Linked DNA regions of Homo sapiens: region 2 is linked to region 1. The links are contacts of gene promoters, found by promoter capture Hi-C in blood cells and fetal thymus (Javierre and others, 2016). All regions are on one chromosome and are shown on one strand. The core of a region is centred on a gene start or on the middle of the fragment in contact, and the rest is flanking DNA. Distances in the headings are between cores, read along the strand shown. Region 1 holds the start of TLE4 (TLE family member 4, transcriptional corepressor). Region 2 overlaps MRPL50 (mitochondrial ribosomal protein L50).

Region 1 (6,502 bases), core at 2,676-5,175:
AGCTTTTTTAACAGCTGGAAAATATTTAAAGGGCTCAGATTCAGTTTCACTAGGCAGGCAATGAGGATGAATTTGGAGCTAAGAGGCAACATATTAATAATAGCCACTTTTATTGTGAAATCCCCATATTCTGGCACATAGTAGGTTTAATAAATATTTGGTGAAGTAATAAATAAATGATTTACATCTAACCAAAGTGAAAAGCATGCTTGGCATATGTCACTTCAAGATTGGAGCTTTCAGGCCTAGCTTTTAACATGAAAGTTGCTGCCAAGTGCCTCCCACATGAAAACTCTGGAACACCCCACCTACCCCCCACTCTGTGGTAGGGATAAGACAGGCCTCCAGATAACATCATAGCTTGGCTCAACAGTTAGCGAGAAGTGCAATGAGAGAAGCACAGCAGAGAAAAGGAGAAAAAGTGGCCATGAGCCCCACTTACAGTCTGTGTTACGGCTAGGGCTGGGCCGCCAGTTGCTGCATTTGCATCTTTCTGAGACATTGAGGTGAGTTACATAGCTCTGCCACGTGGCCAAAATGTGAAACACATCCAAGGGCTATATTTTAATACAGAACTTAAAAAATAAAGAAACATCTTGACTTCTCTAGCCACTTTCCTGTTGACACAAACCATCGAGAGAGATTAGGGGAAAGATCCTTGCTATAAGTGATCTGATATTTCCTAACAGAGCAAAGTTTCCTCTTTGTCCACTGACCCTTTCAATAGTTCTTCGGGTTCTATTCTTAGAATTCTCGTTTCCTGTCCTGAGAGAAAACTGCACAGAATTTCAATAAATATGACCCAAATGATGTGGAAACTTCCTATAAGGATGCAATGAGGTATTCATTCATTAATGCCATCAACAAATATTTACTGAGCACCAACTACCAGACAGTGATGGCAGACATAATTTGGGGAGTTTGGAGTGCAACTGTGAACACAACCAGGTCCCTGTTCTCATGGAACTTGCTAACATTCTGGCTAAAATAGAGAACATGGAACTTCCTACAGAGGCACTGTGGGTGATTTCACAAACCATTGAAAAGCTCTAGTGGGAGCAAGCAACTAACCAACCTTAGAATAAAACATGGTTGTTGCTGGTGTTCTTAGAAACTTCGCTGTCCTCGTGTGCAAATTGTATCACTAAAGTCTTCTCACTTTTGATTCTTGGGAAGGTTTCAGGGCAGGGCTGTCTAATGGAAATATGTAAGCCTCATAATTTAAAATCTTCTAGGAACAAAGTTAAAAAAGTAAAAAGAGGCTGGGCACGGTGGCTCACGCCTGTAATCCAAGCACTTTGGGAGGCCGAGGCGGACGGATCACCTGAGGTCAGGAGTTCAAGACCAGCCTGACCAACATGGAGAAACCCCGTCTCTACTAAAAATACAAAAAATTAGCTGGGTGTGGTGGCGCATGCCTGTAATCCTAGCTACTCGGGAGGCTGAGGAAGGAGAATCGCTTGAACCCAGGAGGCGGAGGTTGCGGTGAGCCGAGATCGTGCCATTGCACTCCAGCCTGGGCAACAAGAGCGAAACTCTGTCTCAAAAAAAAAAAAAAAAAAAAAAAAAAGTGTGTGCCTGCAGTCCCAACAACACTGGAGGCTCAGGCAGGAGGATAGCTTGAGCTTCAGAGTTTGAGGCCAGCCTAGGCAACACAGGAAGACCCCCATCAATACAATAAATAAATAGAAACAGACAAAATTAATTTTACTAATATTTTTAATTGAGTTATTCAAAATATCACAATTTTGACATAATTATAAATTATTGAGCTGCAGTTTTTTCACATTAATTTTTTCAAAATGCCACATATATGTGTACTTACAGCACATCTCATTTTGAATTGGACACATTTCAAGTGCTTAACAGTCACATGTGGCTAGGTATGGAACAGCAGAGGTTCAGAAAACTGTCAAAAGGACTTCTCTGTCCTCTTATTTTGGGGATGGAGGCGAAAATATTTGCCGAATTGAAACATTCTGTGAACTTTGGCTCTGGGTTTTTAGTATGAAATTAGAGGCAGGTGAAGACCACCATAGCCTTCCTTTGCACCAGCTCACTACAGTGGCCAGAACGGAAGGAGGTTCACAGAACGTGCTAGGTTGGACATTAAGTCACCGAGTCATCCACTGAGGAAAGGGATATCATTAAGAAGAATAGTTTTCCACTAACGCCGAACCGGCGGCACCATCTCAACCAACAGGTCAAGTTACAGTAGGCAAGCACGCATAGAAATAAACGTCTAAAACCCAGCCTGTTACATTAGCCAACACTCTTCTTGACTTTTTCCGAATTTTTTCCCTGTCCCCAAGATTAGCCGCTCGCTAGAAAAGACTGCGAGCCTCAGCAGCCTCCCCTTGAACTGGGGCGCTGCCTCCAGCTGGACACGGACTAAGGATGGAAAGGCGCACTGACGGAGGCCGCCCCCATTTCCCAGGCCCCTCCCTAGGGGTGCCCCTCCTCAGCCATGGCTGCCCCTTTCTCTCCTCCTCCAGCATCTGCCCCTGGGGCCACCCCCACCTTTCCGCCATCTCTCGGGCCCGCGTGGCACCCTGCTCTGTTTTTAACGGGGATAAACTTGACTTGCTTCTCCAAAGAGCGGGAAAAAGAGGCGCAGTCTTGGTACTGATCTGGGGGAGGGAACGTCCCAGGGCGCGCAGGGGCGTTTTCTACCCGTGCCCCGTCGGCCTGCTCTGTTCAGTACCGACCGTGTTCGGGGTTCACGTGGCCCAGTCGGCAAAGTTTCTTTGGAGGTCCAGCGTCTCTGATTCCCGGATCTTCAGCCCCACCCGGAGCCCCCACGGTTACTGCCCCCCGCGACCCCCGATGGAGCGTCGGGATGCGCTTTCTCTCCGAGTGCCTCCGGGGGTGGAGGGAGGGAGGCCTGTTTCGGAACTAAATGGCAATCACAGCCCCCGCGGGGCTTGGAGGGACGAGCTCCCCGCCCACCCCGCGGCCCCGGCCCCAGCCAGCATCTCGCGACTCCATTTCTGGCTCTAAACAAGAACGGGGACCGAGTCGCGTTCACACGGAAAATTATGCCGGCTCCAGCGGCGCGTAAAATTGATGTGAACCGAACGAAGTAAGATCAGCGTGATCCTCCCCCTCTTGTCTCAACAGGGGTTTCGGCGCGTTACACAAGGCCGAGCTTGTCTCTTTAAGGAGACATTGGACCCTAATTAGTCCGCATTCCTGGCGCGGCTGCGGAGCGAGGGGCCGAAGGTGTCTGGGTTGGGAGACGGGTGGGCGGGAGGACGAGACTCGGAAGAAGATCTTTTGACCAGCCCCCAGGCTCACCGCTCCCTCCACCCTCTTTATTTTGCCGCCACCACCACCACCACCACCAACACCTAATTCTGAAGATGCAGCCAGGGCAGCAGCAACAGCAGCAGCCGCCGATTCTCCCAGCCCCACGTTACTTTGATTGACAGCTGAACAAATGTTTTCCCGGTTCGAACGCTCGCGCTAAGGAACGTCAGCCAAGGCGAAGCTCCGCCTTGGGCGGGCCATCTCCGCCCCGCCTCCGCCAACCTCATTCCTCTTCGTTAATTGGTCGGAGCTACAGGCGACGCCCGGCCCCCACGTGGGTTTCAGCTGGGTTGGCTCCTCCCCGCTGGCTTGCCATTTGTCAGCAGTGAAATGATGGGCACTAACACAGAACGGCGATTAATGTTCAGCCACCTCTGATTGGTTGGTGGAGACGCCTACCGCAACGGGGGTGGGCGGGGCGCTTGGAGAGCTCGCCAGAGCGCTCGCATGGCGGGCCGGTGATTGTAGTCAATCTGGCCGTATTCTCAGGCAGGGTCGCCCGGGGCGGACTACATCTCCCGGGATGCTGCGCGGCCGCCCCGCGGAAGATTGTGAATATGTATCAGAATGTTAATGATTAGCTGCTGCTAAATTTGGTCAAAGAAGTCACCTACACAGAGCGTGTTGTTAGAGCTGTGCTGAGCGGGTGTTTGGGTTGTTGGCTGCTTTCTTCCCCCTTTCTCACACACTTGTATATTATTTTGAGGTGGTGTTCGCAGAGTTTGAAAGGAGAGAGAATTAAAAAAAAAAGCCGCAAGCGTTTCACTCTTTTATTTTTATAATCCCCTTCAATTTGGGGTTAAAAAAAAGACAAGAAAACAGGAAGGAAGAGAAATAAGGAAATGAGATGTGGTAAAAGAAGCTAAAAGGTGCCTTTTAAAAGATCGTTGCTGTGAAGTGAAAAAAATCTCCAGAGAAACCAAAAAGCACCGCCGAGACCTCTTCCGAACCAAAGGAGTTTGTGTTTGCTTTTAGGGAAGAAGAAAGATCATTCATTCGGAGGAATAACAACCAATTAAAAGACAAATAAAAAAAGTTTGGAGTGGGACGCAGAGCGAGCGAGAGGAGCTGCCGGCGGGCGGTGGGGCGCGGAGCCCGCACTTTCCCGGCCGGGTGAGCGGCGGCCGCGGCGCCGGGCTCGGCGGGTGCGCCTCGGCGGAGCGAACGTCGGAGCGTTGCCTTGGGAGACGCGCGCCGGACAATGCCCGCGGCGGGCCAGTGACGCCCGCGGGGAATGCGGAGCGGCCCGGCAGCCGGCACCCAGCCGCCGCCGCGCGTTCCTGCCGCCCGTGTCACGCGAGACCCGGCGGGGGCCGGGACCGCCCGAGCCGCCCCTCAGACCGAGCCGGCCGCCTCCGCTGCCGCGGCCGCCTCCTCTTCGGGGTCATTAAAGCCAATGAGCCGCGCGCCTCTGCCGAGCGCAGCCAACTAAATCGGCTTGGATGATTCGCGACCTGAGCAAGATGTACCCGCAGACCAGACACCCAGTGAGTGCGGGCGGCGGGGCGCGGGCTCGCCGGGTGCTGGGGGATTCCCCGCGTCGCCCCCTGCGCACCGAGTTGTGTCTTTTGGCCGGAGGGGCGTGGAGAGCCGCCCGAAATCGGCGCCCCGCGCCGGGAGCAGCCCGCCCGCCATCACCCCCACCCCCCGGCGCGGTGGCCCTCGGAGGGGGTGCGGAGAGGCAATTGAGTTGTAGCCATTTTCTTATTGTTGTCTTTGAAGCCCCTGGAAGCCGCGCCGAGCCGTTTGCGGTCCCCGCGCCGCGACTCCTCGAGGGGGGGTGGCGAGCGATGAAGGAGGCGCGACTCCGCGCCCGGGCGGGGAGGGCGCCCTCGGCAGCGGCGCTGCTGGGCTGGCTGCGGTTTGGAAGTGCGGGGCGCCGGCCCCTCGCGCCGCGGGCCGCCGGGGCGAGCGGGCGAACGAACGAGCCGAGAGGGTGGCGGCCGCCTCCCTCCTCCCCCGGCCTGACCGCAGCCCGACGCCATGGCGCGGGTCCCCCCGACGGGCCAGTTTCGATTCCGGGTGAGGAGGGAGTGGGCGCGGCGCGCGGGTCCCTGGGTGCCTGTCTTTGGCCGGGGAGGGGAGACGGGACTCGAACCCTCGGGGTCCGGGGCGCGGGGGCCTGCGGGCGGGAGTATGCGGGGCCCCAGGACCACCTCGAAACCAGCCTCTGCCTGGGCTGTTGGGCGCGAGGAGGGTTGCGGGAGGAGAGTTTTAATCTCTCTTTGCTTGCGTGCGCGATGACCCTCACCCCCCGCTAACGCCGCATAGTAGGTTTTCTCCGTCTCCCTGCTTCGCCTGTGATGTGGGCTAATTAAATATTTTATTGTTGTTCTTCAGGCACCGCATCAGCCTGCTCAACCCTTTAAATTTACAATTTCCGAATCCTGTGATCGGATTAAGGAAGAGTTTCAGTTTTTACAGGCTCAATACCACAGGTAACGATATTGACTTTAGCTGATCCTTCTGTTTGCTTAGCTCTTGTCTCCCCGACAAATACACACAAACACTTACCCTCCTCCTTTTTTGTGGGGGCGTCACAAAGGTATTATTTTTTTTTCTCGGTGGGCAGAAAGGGCAAATCAAGGCCTCCTTCCTTAGGCAGGTGTAAATAAATTAAACATTTCTTCTACCGTAAATAAAAAGAAGGCAGAACAATCGAAACTGGGGAGACTTGGAAAACGCTGAGGCCAAACTTTCGATATTGATTTATTGGGGCCGGGAGAATGAAAGGTTGGGAAGATTCTGGGGCCTTTTGACATCCTTGGTTCTTTATTACTCCGGACTTGATTCCTTCTCACTTTTTTCTGCCATTCCACTGAAGAGCTGAGAGCCCAGGGAAGTCGGAGTGAGCGATTTCATTACTTTTATGCTAAAAAAAAAAAAAATGTTTTCATCTTATAGACGATTTTTAGACTTAGGGTGCCTTTGAGACATTTTTCTTTAGCTGGCTTTTTAATGATGCCTAATTCTTATTTCATAAATGCAAGAACCAAAACAAACCACTGAACCCGATTGACACTTTGCCCCTGGGTGGTGGTATTCAACTTGTCTGTGTGTTTTGGAGGGAAAAAAACAAGATATCATTCATAAGACATGCTTGATTCATATTTTCATTAATCTCTTTGTAGAACATTAAAGAAATTCCCTTGTGACGTTTTGGAGGACTTATTTGTGCTTGTATGTGCAGTCA
Region 2 (6,868 bases), core at 4,369-6,868, about 22 Mb after region 1:
AACACCCACTCTCAATAACAGACAGATCATCCAGACAAAATCAACAAAGAAAGACTGGAATTACATTCTACACCAAATGGACTTGACACTTAGAGAACATTTCACCCAACTGCTGCAGAATACATATTCTTCTCATGAGTACATGGTACATTCTCCAGGGTAGACTGTATCATAGAACACAAAACAAGTTTTAACAAATTCATAAAACTCAAAATCATATCAAGGACTTTTCTAACGACAATGAAATATAACTAGAAATCAATAACAAGAACTCTAGAAACTATACAACTACATAAAAAATAACATGCTCCCAAATGACCAATGAGTCAATGATGAAATTAGGAAGGAAATTTTAAAACGTCTTGAAGCAATAAAAATGAAAACACAACACATCAAAACCTATGCGATACAGCAGAAGCAGTAGTAAGAGGGAAGCTTATAGTAATAAACATCTACATGAAAAAAGAAAAACTTCACATAAACAATCTAAAGATGTACCTTAAATTAGAAAAAGACAAACCAAATCCAAAATTAGTAGAAGGAAAGAAATAAGATCAGTGTAGAAATAAATAAAATAGACTAAAAAAGCAATAAAAAGATCAATGAATTAAAAAGTTGGTTTATTGAAAAGTTAAAATCAACAAACCTTTAGCTAGACTAAAAAAAACAGAGAAGACACAAATACATAAAATCAGAGGCAAAAAAGGAGATATTACACTGATATCACAAAAATTTAAAGGCTAATTAGAGATTGTTACAAGCAACTATAAGTCAATAGATTGGAAAACCTAGAAGAGATGGATTAATTCCTAGACACGGACAACTTACCAGGATTGAATCACGAAGAAAAAGAAAACCCAAACAGAAATAATGAGAAAGAGGCTGTAATAAAAGTCTCCCATCAAAGAAAAGCTTAAGACCTGATGGCTTCACTACTGAACTCTAGCAAGCATTTAAAGAAGAACTAATGCCAATCAATACGAATTCTACCACAGCTATTCCAAAACACTGAAGAGGAGAGAATACTTCCAAACACACTCTACAAGGCCAGCATTACCCTGAGGCCAAAACCAGACAAAGACAAAATAAAAAAGGAAAACACATTCTACAAGACCAGCATTACCCCGATACCAAAATCAGACAAAGACAAAATAAAAAAGGAAAACTACAGTTCAATATTCCTGATGAGCACAGATGCAAAAACCCTCAACAAAACATTAGCAAGCAGAATTAAACCACACATTAAAATGATCATTCACCATGATCAAGTGGGATTCATCCCAGAATGCAAGAATGGTTCAACATATGCAAATCAACAAATTCGATACATCACATTGATAGAATCAAGAACAAGAATCATGTGATCATTTCAATAGATGCTGAAAAAGCATTTCATACATTTCAACATCCTTTCATGATAAAAACTCTCAATAAACTGGATACTGAAGGAACATACCTCAACATAATAAAGGTCATGCATGACAAACCCACCAAACAAGGACACAAAACAAGCTAGCATCATTGAATGGGAAAAAACTCAAAGCCTTTCCTCTAAGATCTTGAACAAGACAAGGATGCTCACTTTCATCACTTGTATTCAACACAGAACTTGAAGTCCTAGCCACAGCAATTAGACAAGAGAAAGAAATAAAGTACATCAAAATTGAAAAGAAGTCAAATTGTTCTTATTTGATATATGATCTTACGTATCATACGTAAGATATATGATCTTATGTATCATACGTAAGATATATGATCTTATATATCTTGTTGATATATGATCTTGTATTTAGAAAAACCTAAATATCCACCAAAAAAACTCTTAGAAATTATAAATTCAGTAAAGTTTCAGAATACAAAAATCAACATACAAAATCAGTAGCATTTCCATATGCCAATAGTAAACAATCTGAAAAAGAAATCAAGAAATCAATTCCATTAACAATAGCCACACACACAAAAAATCTAGGAATAAACTTCAACAAAGAAGTAAAAGGTCTCTACAATAAAAACTATAAAACACTGATGAAAAAAATTGAAGGGGACACACAAAAAATGGAGATATCCCACGTTCATGGATTGGGAGAATTGATGTTGTTGAAATGCTTATGCTACCCAAAGCGATATACTGTCAATGTAATCTTTATCAAAATACCAATGACGTTCTTCACAGAAATAGAAAAAAAAATCCTAAAATTCGTATGAAACCACAAAATGCCTTGAATAGCCAAAGTAATGCTAAGCAAAAAAAAAAAAAAAAAAAAAAGACCACACCTAACTGACCCCACCTTGCTTCTAACCTTTAAGCTGTCCTTGTTCATTCCTGGGCATAGGCCAAACTAACCTTGGGAAGGAAATGAGTTTACAGTTTGACTCTGAAACAAAATTGGTAATAGCCTTTTTCTGAAAAGACCTCCCTCTTGCCTGGGAACCAGTTTGCTTTTGTAGGACTAACAAATTAGCTACAAGATTAGAAATTATGGTTAGGGGTCATTCAGACTCCGGCTGCAAGAGTCTGATCCTCCCCAAATTGCTCCTGGGATAACACTGCTATTGTAAAATTCAAGGTCAGTGCTTGAGATATTTTGCAGACCCTGCACTCAATGGATTAGCTTACACCACCAAAGCCGGTAATCTGGCTCAATCAGTTCTGTGATCCCACCCAGGATCATAAGTTGGCAAGAACTCACTTAGACCCCCTATGATTTCATTTCTAACCCAACCAATCAACACTCCCCATTTCCTAGGCCCCTACCTGCCAAATTATCTTTAAAACCTCCGATTCCCAAGTTTTCGGGGAGACAGATTTGACTAATAATAAAACTCCAGTATCCTCACAGCTGACTCTGCGTGAATTACTCTTTCTCCATTGCAATTCCTCTGCCTTGATACATCAGCTCTGTCTAGGCAAAGTGAACCCGTTGGGCAGTTACAAAATTATAACCCTACTAGAAGAAAACATTGGGGAGATGCTTCAGGACATTGGTCTGGGCAACGACTTCTTGAGTAAGACCTCAAAAGCACAGGCAATAAGAACAAAAATAGACAAATGGGATTATACTAAACTAAAAAGCTTCTGTGTAGAAGAAAACATTGGGGAGATGCTTCAGGACTTTGGTCTGGGCAATGACCTTTTGAGTTAAGACCTCAAAAGCACAGGCAACAAGAACAAAAATCAACAAATGGGATTATATCAAACTAAAAAGCTTCTGCATAGCAAAGGCAACAATAAACAAAGTGAACAGGCAACCTAGAGAATAGGAGAAAAATTGGCAAACTATCCAACAAGGGATTAATAACCAGAATATACAAGGAACCCAAACAACTCAGTAACAACAACAAAAAAAACCTGATTTAAAAATAGCAAAAGATCTGAATACATATTTCTCAAAGAAGATATACAATGACCAACAGGTATATAAAAAAAATGATCTCTAATCATCAGGGAAATGCAACTCAATAACACAATGAGGTATTATCTCACCTGAGTTAAAATGACTATTATTTAAAAGACAAAAAATAACAAATGCTGGCAAGGATGTAAAGGGGAATACCAGTACACTGTTGGTGGGAATGTAAATTAGTACAACTGCTATGGAGAAAAGCATGGAAATTTCCCAAAGAAATTAAAAATAAAATTACCATATGATCTGGCAATCCCACTGCTGGGTATACATCCAAAAGAAAGTTAATCAGTCTAACAGAGATATCTGTACTCCATGTTTATTACAGCACTATTCACAATAGCCAAGATATGGAATCAAACTAAGTTTCTACCAATGGATGAATGGATATTAAAAAAACCGTACATATACTCAATGGAATATTATTCAGCCATTAAAAAAGGATGAAATCCTGTCATTTGCAGTAACATGGATGAAACTGGAGGACACTCTTTAGTGAAATAAGCCAGGTGCAGAAAGACAGATATCGCATGTTCTCGCTCCTATGTGTGAACCAAAAAAAAAAAAAAGACCTCATGGAGGTAGTAATAAATTGATGGTTACCAGAGGCTGGGAAGGGTAGTGAGGAGGTAAGGTATGAAGACAGATTGGTTAGAAATACAGTTAAAAGGAGTAATACAGTTAGAGAAGAGGACTACAGCTAAAAAGAGTAAGTTCTAGTGTTTGATTTCACAATTGGGTGACTATAGTTAGTAGTAATTTATTTGTATTTCAAAATAGCTAGAAGTGAAGATTTAGAATGTTCCCAAAACAAAGAGATAAATAACGTGATGGATACGTCAACTATTCAGATTTGGCTATTACACATTGTATGCTTGCATCAAAATATCACATGTACCCCATAAATATCTACAACTATTATGCATCCATAAACATTAAAAAAAAATTACAAATAAACATCACCTCATACCCATTAGGATGGTCATTACCAAAAAGACAAGTGTGGTGAGGACATGGAAAAAACGGCACCCTTATATGCTGCTGGTGGGAATGAATATTGGCATAGCCATTATAAAAAACAGTATTAAGCTTCCTCAAAAGTTATAAACAGAACTATCCTAACTATCCTAAGATCTAGCAATCTTACTACTCGGTATATATCCAAAGGAAATGAAAGCAGTATCTCAAAGAGACATCTGCACTCTCATCTTCATTGCAGCATGTGTGTATACATGTAAATGTATACATGTATACACACACATACACAATATTTAAGGCTGAATAAAATGCCATAAGTGTGTCTATATGTATATGTGTACCTATGTATGAATATATGTATATATTATGTGCTTGCATATATACACACACAAAAAATGGCATTTTATTCAGCCTTAAAAAAGGATATTTGTAACACATGGATGAACCTGGAAAATATTATGCTAAGAGAAATAAGCCAGACAGAGTAATACCACATGATCTCACTTATATGTAGTATCTAAAAAGTCAAATTAGGCCGGGTTTAGTGGCTCACGCCTGTAATCCCAGCACTTTGGGAGGCTGAGGTAGGTGGATCATGAGGTCAAGAGATCGAGACCATTCTGGCCAACATGGAGAAACCCTGTCTCTACTAAAAATAAAAAAATTAGCCGGGCGTGGTGGCGGGCACCTGTAGTCCCAGCTACTCGGGAGGCTGAGGCAGGAGAATCGCTTGAACCTGGGAGGCGGAGGTTGCAGTGAGCCAAGATAGCGCCACTGCACTCCAGCCTGGAGACAGAGTGAGACTCCATCTCCAACACAAACAAAAAAAAAGTCAAATTCATAGAAACAGAGAGTAGGATGGTGGCTACCAGGGGTGGCGGAAATGAAGAGACGTTGGACAAAGGTAAAATTTAAATTATGTAGAATGAATAAGTTCCAGAGATCTAATGTACACCATGGTGACGATCATTAATAATACTGTACTGTATACTTGAAATCTTCTGAGAGTAAATCTTAAGTGTTTTCACCACACACACAAAAATTCTAACTGGCCAGGTGTGGTGGCTCACCCCTGGAATCCCAGCAATTTGGGAGGCCAAGGTGGGAAAATTACTTGAGTCCAGGAGTTCAAGACCAGCCTGTGCAACATAGTGAGAACTCCTTTCTCTAAAACAAAACAAAACAGAAAGTATGTGAAGAGATGAATATGATAATTATCTTGACTAATAATCAACATCAAGTTGTATATCTTAAATATATAAAATTTTTAAAATAGTAAAGAAAATATAATCATCATTCTCAGTAATCTATTTCCTCTAGTTTTCTTCATAATTTACCACTTTCTGAAATTACATTACACATTTGTTCATTTCTTCCTCCATTAGAACATATGCCCTACGAGAACAAAAATTTGGTCTGTTTTAGTAACCACTGTATTCTTACAACACCTAAGATATAGCCTGGCATATAGTAAACAGCCTAAAAAATATTTGTTGAGTGAATGAATAAAACAAACTTGGAAGAGATTTGAGAGATAATAACAAATATTGACCAAAGAAGAGGGAAAGCTAATATCTGAACTGATGAAAAAGATCTTTCCTAATTGTAGTGGTTTTTGTTTTAAACCTAAGAGAGCATACATTGCTCCCTAGGGTTCCTACCATACGTTTTGATTTCCTAAACACTATCTAAGTCAAATTAGATTTACCTTCAAACAATTACACATGGTGCAGCCGTGCAGCAGAAAAAGCAGTAGATGGGGAGTTAGGAGACATATGTTCTAGATCCAGCTTTGCAATTAACTTGCTTTGTGACTTTGGGAAAATCACTTCCCTCCTGTGGGCCTGTTTCCTCATATGTTGGAGTACCTCGAGGATGAGAATGGATTTTGTTTTTCCTGCTGTATCCTAGGCGCTTAGAGTAATGCTGGCCCTAAGAAATCTGTTGAATGACTGAATGAATGAACAAACAAAAGGAGGAGGCAGTACTTCATTACTGAACCTTGCTTGTGAAGAAACACAGCCGGCAAATGAGTTTAGTTTACCAAGCGCTTTCATGTGTTTGCAGACAACACACTCGGTGTCTCGCACACGAGGTTAATCCTGCTTGCTTAATAAATAAATGAATGAGTGAAGTGAAAAGGAAAGGGGGTGGTATTTCCGTTATAAAATGAGAAAACTAAGGCCGAGAGTGGAAGAGACTGGGTCCCACCACTCAATGAGTGCTTCTCAACTCGGGACCCTAACCGGACCTCCTTGTCCTTGCTCTGATCAGGCGCGGGACCACGATGGCGTAACACTCTATTTTGAATTCGTCCCTAATCCTCCTTAACTTTCCTTGAACATGACCCACCGTCCACCATAAAGCTTTACCTGAATCGAGACCAAAATTCTCTACATGGTGTCCCTGAGACTGTCCACATGAAGACTCTTCTGGTAATGCCCGACACAGATCGCGCCGCCATCTTCGATGAGATCCACGGGCCT

Evidence for each region. The method cuts DNA at HindIII sites, captures the fragments that hold promoters and counts their contacts. A CHiCAGO score of 5 or more calls a contact.
Region 2: a contact is called between a fragment that was not itself captured here and the fragment with the promoter of TLE4 in region 1, in 1 of 17 cell types (naive CD4 T cells). The highest score is 5.4, in naive CD4 T cells.

Annotation. Positions count from the first base shown.
Region 1 is chr9:79,568,040-79,574,541 of GRCh38, forward strand. TLE4 (TLE family member 4, transcriptional corepressor) reads left to right here and starts at 3,926. Exons shown (of 20, transcript NM_007005.6): 1 at 3,926-4,796; 2 at 5,650-5,747. The coding sequence starts at 4,752. RefSeq lists silencers at 2,398-2,447, 4,358-4,477, 4,538-4,697, 4,808-5,277, 5,298-5,537 and enhancers at 3,808-3,937, 3,948-3,997, 4,038-4,127, 4,855-5,467. The HindIII fragment of the contact is 12,449 bases long and covers 1-6,502 here.
Region 2 is chr9:101,391,747-101,398,614 of GRCh38, forward strand. It overlaps MRPL50 (mitochondrial ribosomal protein L50), which reads right to left. Exons shown (of 2, transcript NM_019051.3): 1 at 6,755-6,868. The coding sequence starts at 6,846. Among named protein-coding and RNA genes, the nearest start is that of MRPL50, 3.4 kb to the right of the region's middle. RefSeq lists enhancers at 5,985-6,514, 6,515-6,868, 6,576-6,868. The HindIII fragment of the contact is 2,255 bases long and covers 4,492-6,746 here.